Linked DNA regions of Homo sapiens: region 2 is linked to region 1. The links are contacts of gene promoters, found by promoter capture Hi-C in blood cells and fetal thymus (Javierre and others, 2016). All regions are on one chromosome and are shown on one strand. Each heading gives the region's core, a stretch centred on a gene start or on the middle of the fragment in contact. The rest is flanking DNA. Distances are from core to core; before and after follow the strand shown. Region 1 holds the start of PAX6-AS1 (PAX6 antisense RNA 1). Region 2 holds the start of LOC124902652 (a long non-coding RNA gene).

Evidence for each region. Contacts are between HindIII fragments. The CHiCAGO score rates a contact against its expected background, and 5 or more counts as called.
Region 2: a contact is called between a fragment that was not itself captured here and the fragment with the promoter of PAX6-AS1 in region 1, in 1 of 17 cell types (total B cells). The highest score is 5.7, in total B cells.

Annotation. Positions count from the first base shown.
Region 1 is chr11:31,812,505-31,817,951 of GRCh38, forward strand. It overlaps PAX6-AS1 (PAX6 antisense RNA 1), which reads left to right and starts at 4,062. Exons shown (of 3, transcript NR_033971.1): 1 at 4,062-4,135. It also overlaps a transcript of PAX6 not described here. RefSeq lists enhancers at 61-1,029, 3,091-3,852, 5,374-5,447, a silencer at 1,873-2,127 and a promoter at 5,299-5,447. The HindIII fragment of the contact is 5,434 bases long and covers 977-5,447 here.
Region 2 is chr11:27,717,892-27,723,759 of GRCh38, forward strand. LOC124902652 (a long non-coding RNA gene) reads left to right here and starts at 4,351. Exons shown (of 2, transcript XR_007062633.1): 1 at 4,351-4,595. It also overlaps a transcript of BDNF not described here. RefSeq lists an enhancer at 4,089-4,597. The HindIII fragment of the contact is 1,602 bases long and covers 2,095-3,696 here.

The DNA of each region.
Region 1 (5,447 bases), core at 2,812-5,311:
AATGGCTTTTCTCTTCTGACCACACACCAGAAGTCCATTTGTTGAATGCCGCACGATTAGGACACACCTCAGTACACTCCAAAGGCGCCCCTCGGAGCCTGCAGTTAAGGTGACAGGAGAGCGAGCGGCTGCCTGGTCCTGCGCTGTCCCGAGCTCTCTCGGCGGCTTCGGGCCACGGAGCCGGGAAGGAGAAGGAAGGCCTGGGCTGCTGTACACACCCCAGGACAGGGCGAGGGGGAATAGGGCTGAAGAGCTGAGGCAGGGAGGCTGAAATGAAGCAGCCGAAGGGTACGCTAGACTCTTCTTGACTTAGGGAAAGTGCTGAAAGTCAGAGCTCATCAATAAAATCTGCGCGACCTGAACTCGCTGCTGACTGGCCGCGTCGCCGCAGCCCCTGGCAGCCGGGACAGTGAGGACGCTGCAAGCCGCCCTGGGCCGCCGGGCCACATGTGGGCCTCACCCTCTCGTTCCTGCCTGGGACCCAGCAGCCCTGCGACCAAGGAGCCCGGGCAGGGCTCCCGGGAAGCAAAGGCCTCCCCGGCCCTAGCCAGAGGTGGGGTCGCATAACCCTCTCCCCTCCCCGGGCTGGGGAGGGCTGCCGGCTCTAACCCTTCCCCGGGAGCTCGCAGCGCCGGGAGGAAACCTGGGTCAGAGGTGAAGGAGGTGGCGCCGGGTGTCCAGGTCCGCGGCCTCCTGGGCGAGGTTTCATTTCGCAGGAGCGCGACTTTCGGAGGATGCCGGCAAGTGGGGCCGCGGCCCTGAGTCCCAGACCAGCGAAAGTCGGCTTTCTCTTTCTCTCTCCTTTTACTTTCCAAGCGAGCATTAAAGAAGCTTGGACTCAAGACTCAAGTCCGCTGTGCATGAGCGAGGGACTTGCGGGGGGGCGGGGGGGGGGGAAGTGATTCTGTCCGAACTGGAGGCGAGTATCATTTTTACAACCTCTCAATTAGCGACCGAGTGGATTAGCACCTTCTTAAGCTTTGCCTCGGAAAGAAGCAGCCGTAATCTTGTTGCTATTTCCCCCCAGGGCACTGGCTCTTTGAATCAGCTCCTTCTCCCACCCCTCCAACCCCCATCTCGCTGCGGAGAAAAGTTTTAACAAAAAATCAGAAAAGGCAAGGAGCGAGGAGTGAATGCCACTGACGTCATTGGGTGGGGAAGGGGGCTCCGGGAAAGACTCCTGGAAACTCCTCCGCACAAACAAAAAACAAAAAGGACTTGGCTGCTTCCCATGTGTCAATATTTGGGGAGGGGAGTTCAACCCCAGAATGAGGCCGAGTTTTCAAAGTTTAAGGAGAGAGGGGTGAGAGTGAGATTTCCTCGTTCTCTCTGGACTGGTCTCAAGGAAGGTGGGGGTGCTGTTCTACCTCGTGGGGAGCCTCACTCCCTCTGCCAAGTACCGGCTCTGGGGGCGAAGCGGCCTAGGGGTGTGGGGGCCGAGACTGAGGTGCGGGCGCGGTTGCCAGAGGTGTGTACAAAACCGAGACAACTCGCAGGTCGCCATTTTAATTGCGGCTACCAACACGCCCGAGGCCCACTTGCTGCCCTCCAAGACGCGGGGGGGCGGCGGGGATTGCGCTTTAGGTTCTGTCTCCTTTCCCCGCCTCCCCACAGGCCCCTGTTCCCCCCTACCCTCCGCCCCCTGTGGCCAGAGGGAGGACCTCTCAGGCCGGCGGGTGCGTTCCCGCGGGGGCCGCCGGGGTCGTCCCACCCGGTAGCGGGGCTGTCTGCGTGGAGGGAGTCCCGCTGGGGGACCGTGGCTCGCCAGAGCCTGCCCAGAGCTTCTAGCCAGTATTGATGCGTCAACATGAGGTGAGGCAAGCATCTCACCCGCACCGATCCCTGGCATTCCCCTGTGCCCACCCCATCAGGCCTTCGGGGAGGCAAAGAAGTGCCCACTTCTGGGGGGAAGTGCCTCCAGCTCCCAGCTTCAGAACCAAGAGCCTCCCATCCGGAGTTCTGACAGTTCTGACACCTCCAAACTCTCTCTTTCCCCGGTCAAGCAGAGGCGCAGCGCCGGCGCGCTGGAAAGGGTGAAGACTGGCATTTTTTGGAGAAGGAAAGTCTTGGCAGACACCTGCGTCACTTTGTAGTGCCCCAAACGTCTCTCTTTTTGCAGACCCTGGGAAGGTGGGATCCCTTGTCCGCGGAGCTGGCAAACGGGTCCAGTGAGCCCTAAAGGCAAAGGCTCCCATCCCGGCCGCCCAGTCCCTGGTGCCTCCCCCACTTCCAGGCCTTTGTCCCTCTCCTTTCTCCAGCAACCTGCCGGTTCCCGCTAACCCGGCAGCCTCGCCGAGCCCAGAGCCTAGAAAAGCCAAGAAGATCCCAGAGCCGCCCCGTGGCACCTTCAGGCTGTGGCCACTGCTCGGCTTGGGGGGAAGCCGCGGTGCCCTCGCCCTTCCTCGCCTCCTGCCAAATGGCCAGTGCTAGGGGCTCCCTGGGTTCAGTCCTCAGTCCTCTTCCGTTCGCTCTGGGAGGCCAGCCTGTCTCTCTCTCTCTCTCTCTCTCTCTCTCTCTCTCTCTCTTTCTCTCTCTGTCTTCTCCCTGCCCACCCCCAAAATACCTTTAAAATAACATTGTCCAGTGGAGTCTCCCAGCAAAGGGATTCCTAGCAGCCCAGCGGGTCAGACTCCCAAGGCTTTGCCTCCCAGTCCCTCCATGCTGTTGTCCAGATAGGAGTTAGGTTTAAAACTCCTGACATGTAGGACAACTGAAATCAGCGGCACTCTCCGATTTTTGCAAATAGGGTTCCTAGAAAAGTTTGCTTTCCATTTCATCACCCTGTGACGATCCCCCCATCTCTCTTTTCCCTGTAACCTCTGCCCCCAAGAGGCAAGAGTTCAGCTTCAAAGGAAAAGCAAGCAAGTCAAGGCCACCTCAGTCCCTTCTCCCTGGATATCCCCTCTCTAAACCGCTGCCTATTCTAAAGGCCAACGACCCGGTCCTGCGATTTGTCCCGTTGTAGACCTGGGAACAGGCAGGCGGGAACTGGGGGCTTTACTGGGGGATTTGAGGCTGGGGAGGGGGAGGGAGCAAATGTCATGGCTGGCTCGCTCAAGCATCCAGGGAACCGAAGCTAAGCGCATCCTGACGGGCTTTTAAAATGACATTGATTAGGACAAGCTGTTCCCAACCCCAGTAAGAGTTAATCTGCCTGTTAATCAAGGCACTAAGGGGCTCAATGCGAGTTTTATTAGCGACAGGAGAACAGAGGCGGCAGCCAGGGATCAAAAGCCGGGATCCCATATATTTGTCAGCGCTATCTCCAAAAAAAAAAAAAAAAGTATTTTCAATTTGAAAACAATTCGGCGCTTTTCGTCACTTCCTAACCCAGTCTCACAGAGGGTGACTTCCAAACCTGGCTAGCGGGGAAAACCGCTGCCCGGGGGACAGAGGGGCTGACAGGAACTGCGGGTTGGCTCAGCCGAATGCGGCCGGGGAGAATTTAAGAATTCTCAGCCCGCGCGGCCCGATGCCTCTGATTCCTCACGAGAGGAAAGGGAATGAAAAATGAAGCAACAAATGACACCACCCAGGCTGGCAGCCCTCGTTCCCGGCCAGACCCCGCTCCTCAGGCCCGGCTCTGGCGCCGGGTGGCGTCCAGCCCCTGCACGCGCGGCGCGGCCCGCGGGAAAGTTTGTGCAGCGAGAGTGACTGTCCTTCCGCCTCGCGCGCGCTGCCCCCTTCTGCCCCGGAGGGGCGTTGGGTTCCCTTCGGTTTTCCTTTCCAATTCTAAAATAAATAAATAAACTCCGGGCCCTGGGGAAATCTGAATAGTAATTCCAGTCATCCAAATTCTATGAGAGGGTCTGAGGAAAAAAAGACAAGCCTATCACGGGCGCCCTCCGATCACGAAGGGCACGGGCATGAGAAGGCGACAGAGGAGGTCCTCGGCTCGCCCTGGGCGCGGAGCGAGGACTCTGGTCAGAGGTAATTATGTCACCGCGTTTTCTCGCCGTGACAGCCGAATAAACACGATCTCCAATAAACATCTCTAATGAGGGAGGAGGCCCGAGGATGGCTGGGTTTGATTTATGACTGGAGGAGAAGGTCCACTTCCCACTGCGAAGCAGGCGACCTGCTCGCCGCCCAGCTCCAGGGAGAGGAACCCGCGGAGGAGAGGATCCCGGCCCAGGTAAGGCGTGCGGCCGGACTGCCACTGCGCTCGTCCCCCGTTTCCAGGTGAGGTGAGCAGGGGGCGCCACCGCTCGGAGTCGGGCGGAGGTCCCAACACCTGTCACAGGTGACTGAGCTCCGAAGGTGCTCCCAGAAGACCTAGAAAGGGGGCGCAGGAGCGCGAGTGGGAGTGGGGGTTGGGGGCTAGCCGGGGCCTGGCCCAGAGGCCGCCCCAAACTCCCGGGCGGGGTTCTTGGGTGCCCCGCCTAAGCCGGCCTGGGCGTCTCCAGCTGCTTTTAGGGCCGGGCTCCCAGGACTTTCGCCCGGCTGAACCACAAGTTAGTCTAAGTTTGGGTCGTCCCTTCCCTGACTCACTAAGGGGACACTTCCGGGCCCCGGCTCTGGCCCTCCAAGGGCCGCAGGGTGGTGGGCGCTTCTCTTTCCCGGGCTTGGCGGCCCGGCTCCCATGGCGCCCGCGCGCTTCCCGCCGAGGCAGCCAGCGCAGCGCCCGCAGTAACCGGAGCCCGCGTTCTAGCTCAGTGAGAATCGCTAATTATTAGGTCTTCCGAAGTGAAGCTCAAATCACACGCTGGGAGCTTTACGCGCTGCCCAGCTCTGTCGGCCGCATTCTTTCGTACTCCGCGTCTTTCTGAGAAACGAACCCCATCTCTAGACTTTGTTGCGGTCCAGCCATCTGCACTTTGCAACCGCGGGAAACTTCTGCTGCACCTCGCCCGACCCGCGGCAGGGTGTCTTTAAGCGCTCCAGGCGCGGGTACGGACTTTCCCAAGCGTGGATGTCGTGAACTGCGATGCAGAGGAGGTCTGGATGCAAAGTGCGTCCCCACCTCCTGCATTTTTCGCGGTCGCGAGTGGCTTTAGCAGACAGCAGCAGCAGACTCCCGCCCCCTACTCCCAGCTCAGGGCCGGACTGGAAGTCCACTCTTAGGAGTGGAACATTTTGCTACTTTTGCAGAAGAGCACACTCGGCAAAGACAAGTCCCTCCTCCACCCCCCTTCCTATCCCTCCCTCAGTAACTCGCTTCCATCTTTGTATGCCTCCTTTTAAAAGCAAAAATCAAGCCCCGGGGCCACTTGGGGCGGGCTTTGATTTGGGGACAGCAGTCGCTGGCAGCGGAGAGGCCCCGCGGGCCCCGAGCCGGGCCGGGGCCGGAGCCCGGGCGGTTACCTGGGAGCGGAGGGCGGGGAGGCAGGTGAGCCTGGCAGCGCCGGTTCCCACACTTCTCACCGCCGCTCGGCAGGGGAAGTGGCAGATCTGACAGCCGCGTTCTACGCGAGGACCTGCCCCAGAGTTTAAATGTCAATGATAAG
Region 2 (5,868 bases), core at 1,646-4,145, 4.1 Mb before region 1:
TAGAGGATGACGTGACACTTTTGAGGTTTATTTAAGTTGTTAAAGACCTCAAGGTTACAAGACTTAGACTGTTAAGCATTTTTCCTCCCAGAGACACGAAATCTACAATTTTCTCGATTCAACTGTCAACTAAATTGGCAAGTCAACTAAAAGGATAATATTCCCTTAACGATGCATTCATTTGAAGCCCTAGCAACTGTATTAGGCAGCAGCGAGTATTCGCTAGCAAGGGATGGCGCGGGGAGAGGGAACTCTGCAATTTAGAGTGACAGATGATTTCTTTCCCATCCATCAAGCTGCCTCAAAATGTCACAATATTTACACCTCTTTCTTGGTGAATTAGAATCCAGAGACAAGCAGACAGAAAGAAAAAAATAATAATTCCGGCCGGTTGCCGCCTGATTGGAAAAAGCAAGCGTTGCACCTTTAAATTCTGCTCCTCCATTCCCCGTTCCGCACACCACCCCCCCCCGCCCCTCCCGGGATTTTGCAATAAATCTCCCAGTTCTGCGTTCAGCCCTGCAGATCCGTATTTAAAACAGCACCATCTGGGAAGGGTGGGTGGCGATGGTGATGCGGGCGCCTTGGAGTTCCTTTGCAGCACGCTTGGAATTGCATCAGACTGATCAGAAATCCCCCCGCCCCCAAGCTCAGCCCCTCCCGCCACGCTCCCCTGCCCGCCCCTCCCCTCCCCTCCCTTCGCGTAGATCTGACTGAGAAAACGACTGGATCTCGGAACAATCTGTGCCCCATTCGCTGCAGGCTTGCTCCGTAAACCCTGCCCTACGCTCCCTTTGTGTGCCGAGCAGCCTATCACCGTCATCTGATCCTAGCGCCTGTTTTTTATCTTTTCCTTCTGAATTTCCACAATATCCTCGCTTCGCCTATGAATCCACCTGCGCAGAGTTGGGATTCTTTCTTTCGTTCGTTAAAACAGTGGTCTTGAGTTTCGGAAACAGATTTTTCCTACGTTCCCCTCACCCCTACCCCAAGCTCTTGCCTTTTAATTAAGAAGAGCTGATCGGGGGAGGAGTCCAGAACGACCAAACCCTGGGGCGAAAACTGCCACCGGGCTTGGCTCTGTGGCCGGAACAAAAGGCCTGAGAAGGGGGTGGGGGTGAGGGTTATAGGAGTGTGGAGAGCCTGGTGGCCCCCGCCCAGGGGCGCCTAAGTCCCTGAGCTCCCTGAAGAGTGGCAAGAGGATAACGCAGCCGCGCGTTCCGGCAGTTCGCTGTCCCCCGGGGGTGCAGGCGGGGGCGGGAGAGGTAGAACACAGGTCTGGGCGGCTCCGCGCCGCTTCTATCTCACCCGCCAAGCCCCTCACCTCCACCCACCGCCAGTCCCCTGCCCACCCGGGTGGCGGCGGCGGCTCAGCGACTAGCCGGCCGCCCTCCACCGGCGCCTCCGGACGCAACCTCGCCCTGGCAGGGCGGTCTGCGCGTCCAGCTGATTGGTGGCTCTGTCCAGCCGCCGCACGGAGCTAAAAGTGTTCTTCTCCACCGCCTCCAGCCGCCCAGGCCCCCTCGCCCGGCCCGCTCTCTGGCTCTTCGGTCCGGAAAGGACCTTCTACTCCCAGGCGGAGGCTCCCCTTTCCCTGAGTTACCCCGACTGACTCGGACCTGGGCTCAGTGAGGCATCCGGCCCGGCTGGGGAGCGGAGCGCGGTCTCGGCAGCTCCCCTTCCCTTGAGAAAGCGGGAACCCTCTAAGCCAGCGCCCGAAACTCGCGGGGAGGGAGGACAGAAGGGAAAAAAAAAAGAAAACCCAGAAAGAAGCATCCAGCGAGGAGCGAGGGCGACGGAGAGGAAGAGATAGAATGAGGGAGGGATGGAGGCTGGAGGAGGGGGCGGGGTGGAAGAAGGGGGGCGGGAAGGAGGGAGGGAGGGGGAAAGAGAGGGAGGGAGGGATACAGAGAGAATGAATCCTTCTCACTAGAAGAGCTGAAATTACCTTGATTCATTTTTTTGTGTTGGAGGTTTAGCTTTACCTCCTTCCCTCTTCCCAACCTCCACCTCCTCTCCCCACCGCACACCACCTCCACCGCCTGATTCTAAATGCTACAAAGTCAAATTTTAGGAATTCGAATGTTTTGCAAAAGCTTCATAATTAGTAATGAATCTACTGTACACACACACACACACACCAGCAAAGAGAACGGAAAAGAGGGAGGTGAAGAGGAGAAAAAGAGAGATAAATCTTACATTTGAATCAGACATTTGCAGGTCCAAGTTAACTAAACTCATTATATCCGCAGGAAGACTGAGTTTCTTTTTTTTCTTTCTCCCTTTGCCCCAGGGTTCTCACCTAGGGCAATTCAAACTGGGCAAATACCAAGAAACAACCCCCTCTCATGCTCTCCCTCTACCTCCTCCCCTCCACCACGCGTCCTCTCCGGAAGACAGTATCAAAATAGCTCAAGAATTGGGGATGCAAGGGGTCCCCGCCCTGGTGCTTACCTTCTTTGCGGCTTACACCACCCCGGTGGCTAGATCCTGGAGATAAACACTTGCATTTCCCAAAGTTAACCCAGTATACCAACCCGGAGCTTGCCAAGAGTCTATTCCAGCCTACACCGCTAGGAAGCCAACTTCAGCGAGCTCAATGAGGGGACCAAACTGGGGCTCGCTTTCCAAACGCTCCGCTCCAAAATCTGACTCTCTCTCCAGCCCCGATCTCAGTGTGAGCCGAACCTCAGAAAAGACGCTTTTTAAGGGCGACACAGGGTTGGCTTTACAGCGGGGCCAAGAAGACTACCTGGGGGTACCGCCACCTCGGACAAATCCGTTGGCTCTGTCCAAGGTGCTGAATGGACTCCTATCGCCCGGATTACACACCCGGCACAGCAGGAGGAAAAGGCTTAAAAATCTCTAATTAAGTGATACTTGATATTGCTCTAGACGGTTTCTTCCACTTCCTTACGGTTTGTCACGTGCGGATGGCTTTGCCAAAGCCATCCTGTTAATAGTTGATCACATGTTGATGAGAACCTTTTCTTCTACGAGAGGATTACCCATTACCGGTGATATGCACTTCTGACTTATTTCTCTCCCCCCAACCCCACCCCCCATCTACACCTAAACTCCCAGTCTTTACCCCACCCTTACCCCCACTCCACCCCCTAACCCCAACCTCTAACAGCATTATTGTTTTTAGATGGAAATTAACCCCCTTGCAAATGTCAATTACATGCCCACATATAAATCATAGAATATGATCATACACCATACACATTAAGGAAAAGAATAGAATGCAAGACTGCTGAGAGACAAGCATCAGCCTTGAACAACCAATATAACACACACCCCCCCACCCAGCTCCAAGTTTGTTCCACGCAGTTCCACATAGCTGTGTCAAATCTCAAATGATTCCAATTAAAGTTGCACTGTGTAAAAACCCGATTCCCCTGGCCTGAGTAGCTGCTGTTCTTTGGCGTGTGAAGTGCTAGGAAGAGCCGTGATATGCCCGTTGTTAAGCAACATGTCAAGATTTTTCAATTATAATGCAGGTTTTATTGCTACTCACCATTGTGCCTTTGCTGTCCTGGAGACTCAAGTGTCTTAAAATCTCGTCTCCCCAACAGATGCTGGAAGGTAATGTGTCTTGTTTGAAGTCATCATGTGAGAAGTTCGGCTTTGCTCAGTGGATCGCCCACCACTTGGTGTGACTTATGAATCTAATAACCCTTTGCAATATCCGCAAGCTTAAACTCTCAACCACCTTGGCGACTACAGAAGACAAAGCAACTGGCATCGATGTCGAAAAACCTATAGATTTACGCAAACGCCCTCACTCCGAGAGACACGTTTCCTTTTGAGTTCTTACGTGATTCTAATGAATGAGCGAGGTTACCAATGATTGCCCAACTGCCCTGCTATGTAGCAGGTGTTTCCTAGGGCTGCCTTCTAACCGCCCGTTACTGGGTCCTGGCACTGAAAGTTCCCAGAGAAAGTGAGGAGTTTCAGGGTACCCCTGTAAAAAAAAAAACTCAGCCTGCACACCGCTCCCTTGCCCACTACGCAGGTCACACCTGGGGCTCCGGCGAAGCTGAATTCGGCTCGGGAGATTTCCCTGTCGCCAGGTAAGAAAACCTTCGCCTTGTCAGGCTAGGGCGGGAAGACCGCTGGGGAACTTGTTGCTTATCAGCGCCGGCAGACTACCGCTTTAATAATAATACCAGAAAAGCGCAGCAGGGAGGGGGTGGGGGGCGGCAACGGCGACGACTAACCTCGCTGTTTACGTGACCGACTCACTGTGACTCTCTGGGTAAAAAAAGGAAACTTCTTAGAAAAGTTCGTGCCCCTCCCCCTCCCCCATCATGACTAAGGGTCTCCAGCCGATGAGGTCGTGAGTGATGATCAAATGGGGACTGGGGGGAGGGGGGCGAGTAAGTGACTTGTCCTTGGGAACATCTGCATGCGTCGAAGCGCGAACCAGCCCAACAACTTTCCCTTTTCCTCTTAGGTACTGATGACTAGGCGAGAGGCACCAAGGCGAGCCACTAGTTGCCCACAGGAACCTGTGTAAGCCGAGCTCTCGAGCGGCTGAGTTGAATGAAGTTATGACTGCGTTTGCTCTAATGGGTTATGGCTTCCCAAATGTGAGTTAACAGCCCCGGTGCGCAGCTAGGTCGGAAGGCGAGCCGCGGAGAGCGGAGCCGCGGGCCAAGGCAGGGACGGGAGGGGAGGCGGCAGGTTGGGCGCTCCGCTGCTGCTCGGTGCTGCTTCCCCGGAGCCGCTTCCTCATCCTGCGGGGGCTGCCCCGCCGCCGGGGTGCCGGGGTGAGCGCGGCGGGAGCCAGGGCTGGGGTGGCGAACCTCGGAGGGGGCTCTCCCAGGAAGCCCTGCGGTTAGCGCCCGCGCTTCCCCACCAGTGGCTGCGCAAGCTGGGAAGCGAAGAGGTCACGTGTTGGCGGAAAGTAACTTGGAGGCGAAAGGATGAACTTTGAGAAGAGGAAAAAAAGCACAATGAAACAAACTACCCCCTTGGAGTGTCTAATAGAGGGGGAGGCGGGAGGGGGGGCGGAGGGGCGCCGCTCTCCGCGGGAGATGTGGGGACGACTCCGGAAATCTCGGGAAATAGGCAATAACTCGAGCTTTGGCAACGTCCCCCAGCCTAGGGAGGCGCTAACGCAAGGTATCTTTCCACTGAAGCTGCCCTTTGCCTACCCTCAGCCATCGCTAGCACAGCAGAGCAGAAGAACCAGGGATGAATGTAGACCAGTTGTTATGGAGATGTCCGTCGCTCTGAGGAGCGCTAGTGCCCTGGGAAGTCCCCAGACGCATTTCAGGTTTCGTCGTTTTGGCACTGACACCATGATTTTACTCGCTCTGAGTTCCCACCAAGGGGAGCCCACCAACGGCGTCACAGGCCCTGGCCGTGGCGCTATTGACTGCAGGGATGAGGCACAGCGATGCTGCAGAAGATGGTGGATAGCTCTTAAGTTTCAGACCACCCAGCCCTTTCCAATTTCCAGTTTCTTTATTCCAGTCAAAAGTGCTTTGTTTGAATATCATTCTTGCTTGCTTATGTAGAAAAATCTTACTTACACGATAGGATGATTAGAAGCAACAGAACATAAGCATTCAGTGGCTGCTTCAAGGTCCTCCCTCTCCCATCCCAGAAATGCCTTCCTTATGGAAAATAAGTTTTACTTCCCAATTATGTGCATGGACCTCTGTTCATTGCAGCCCCCATTGGTACTGGGTTATTATTATTAGCAGTAAGTCTAGTGTTGAGTTCATGCTTCTCTAGAAATGTTTCCAAAGTCAAACAGGCTTATCTTAGGCTCCAGATAAAATATCTGTATACAAAAGCTTCCTGGTTCTCATTAGGAGTAGTTCTAGATTTGCCAGGCTCCTGGAGACCTGAGAT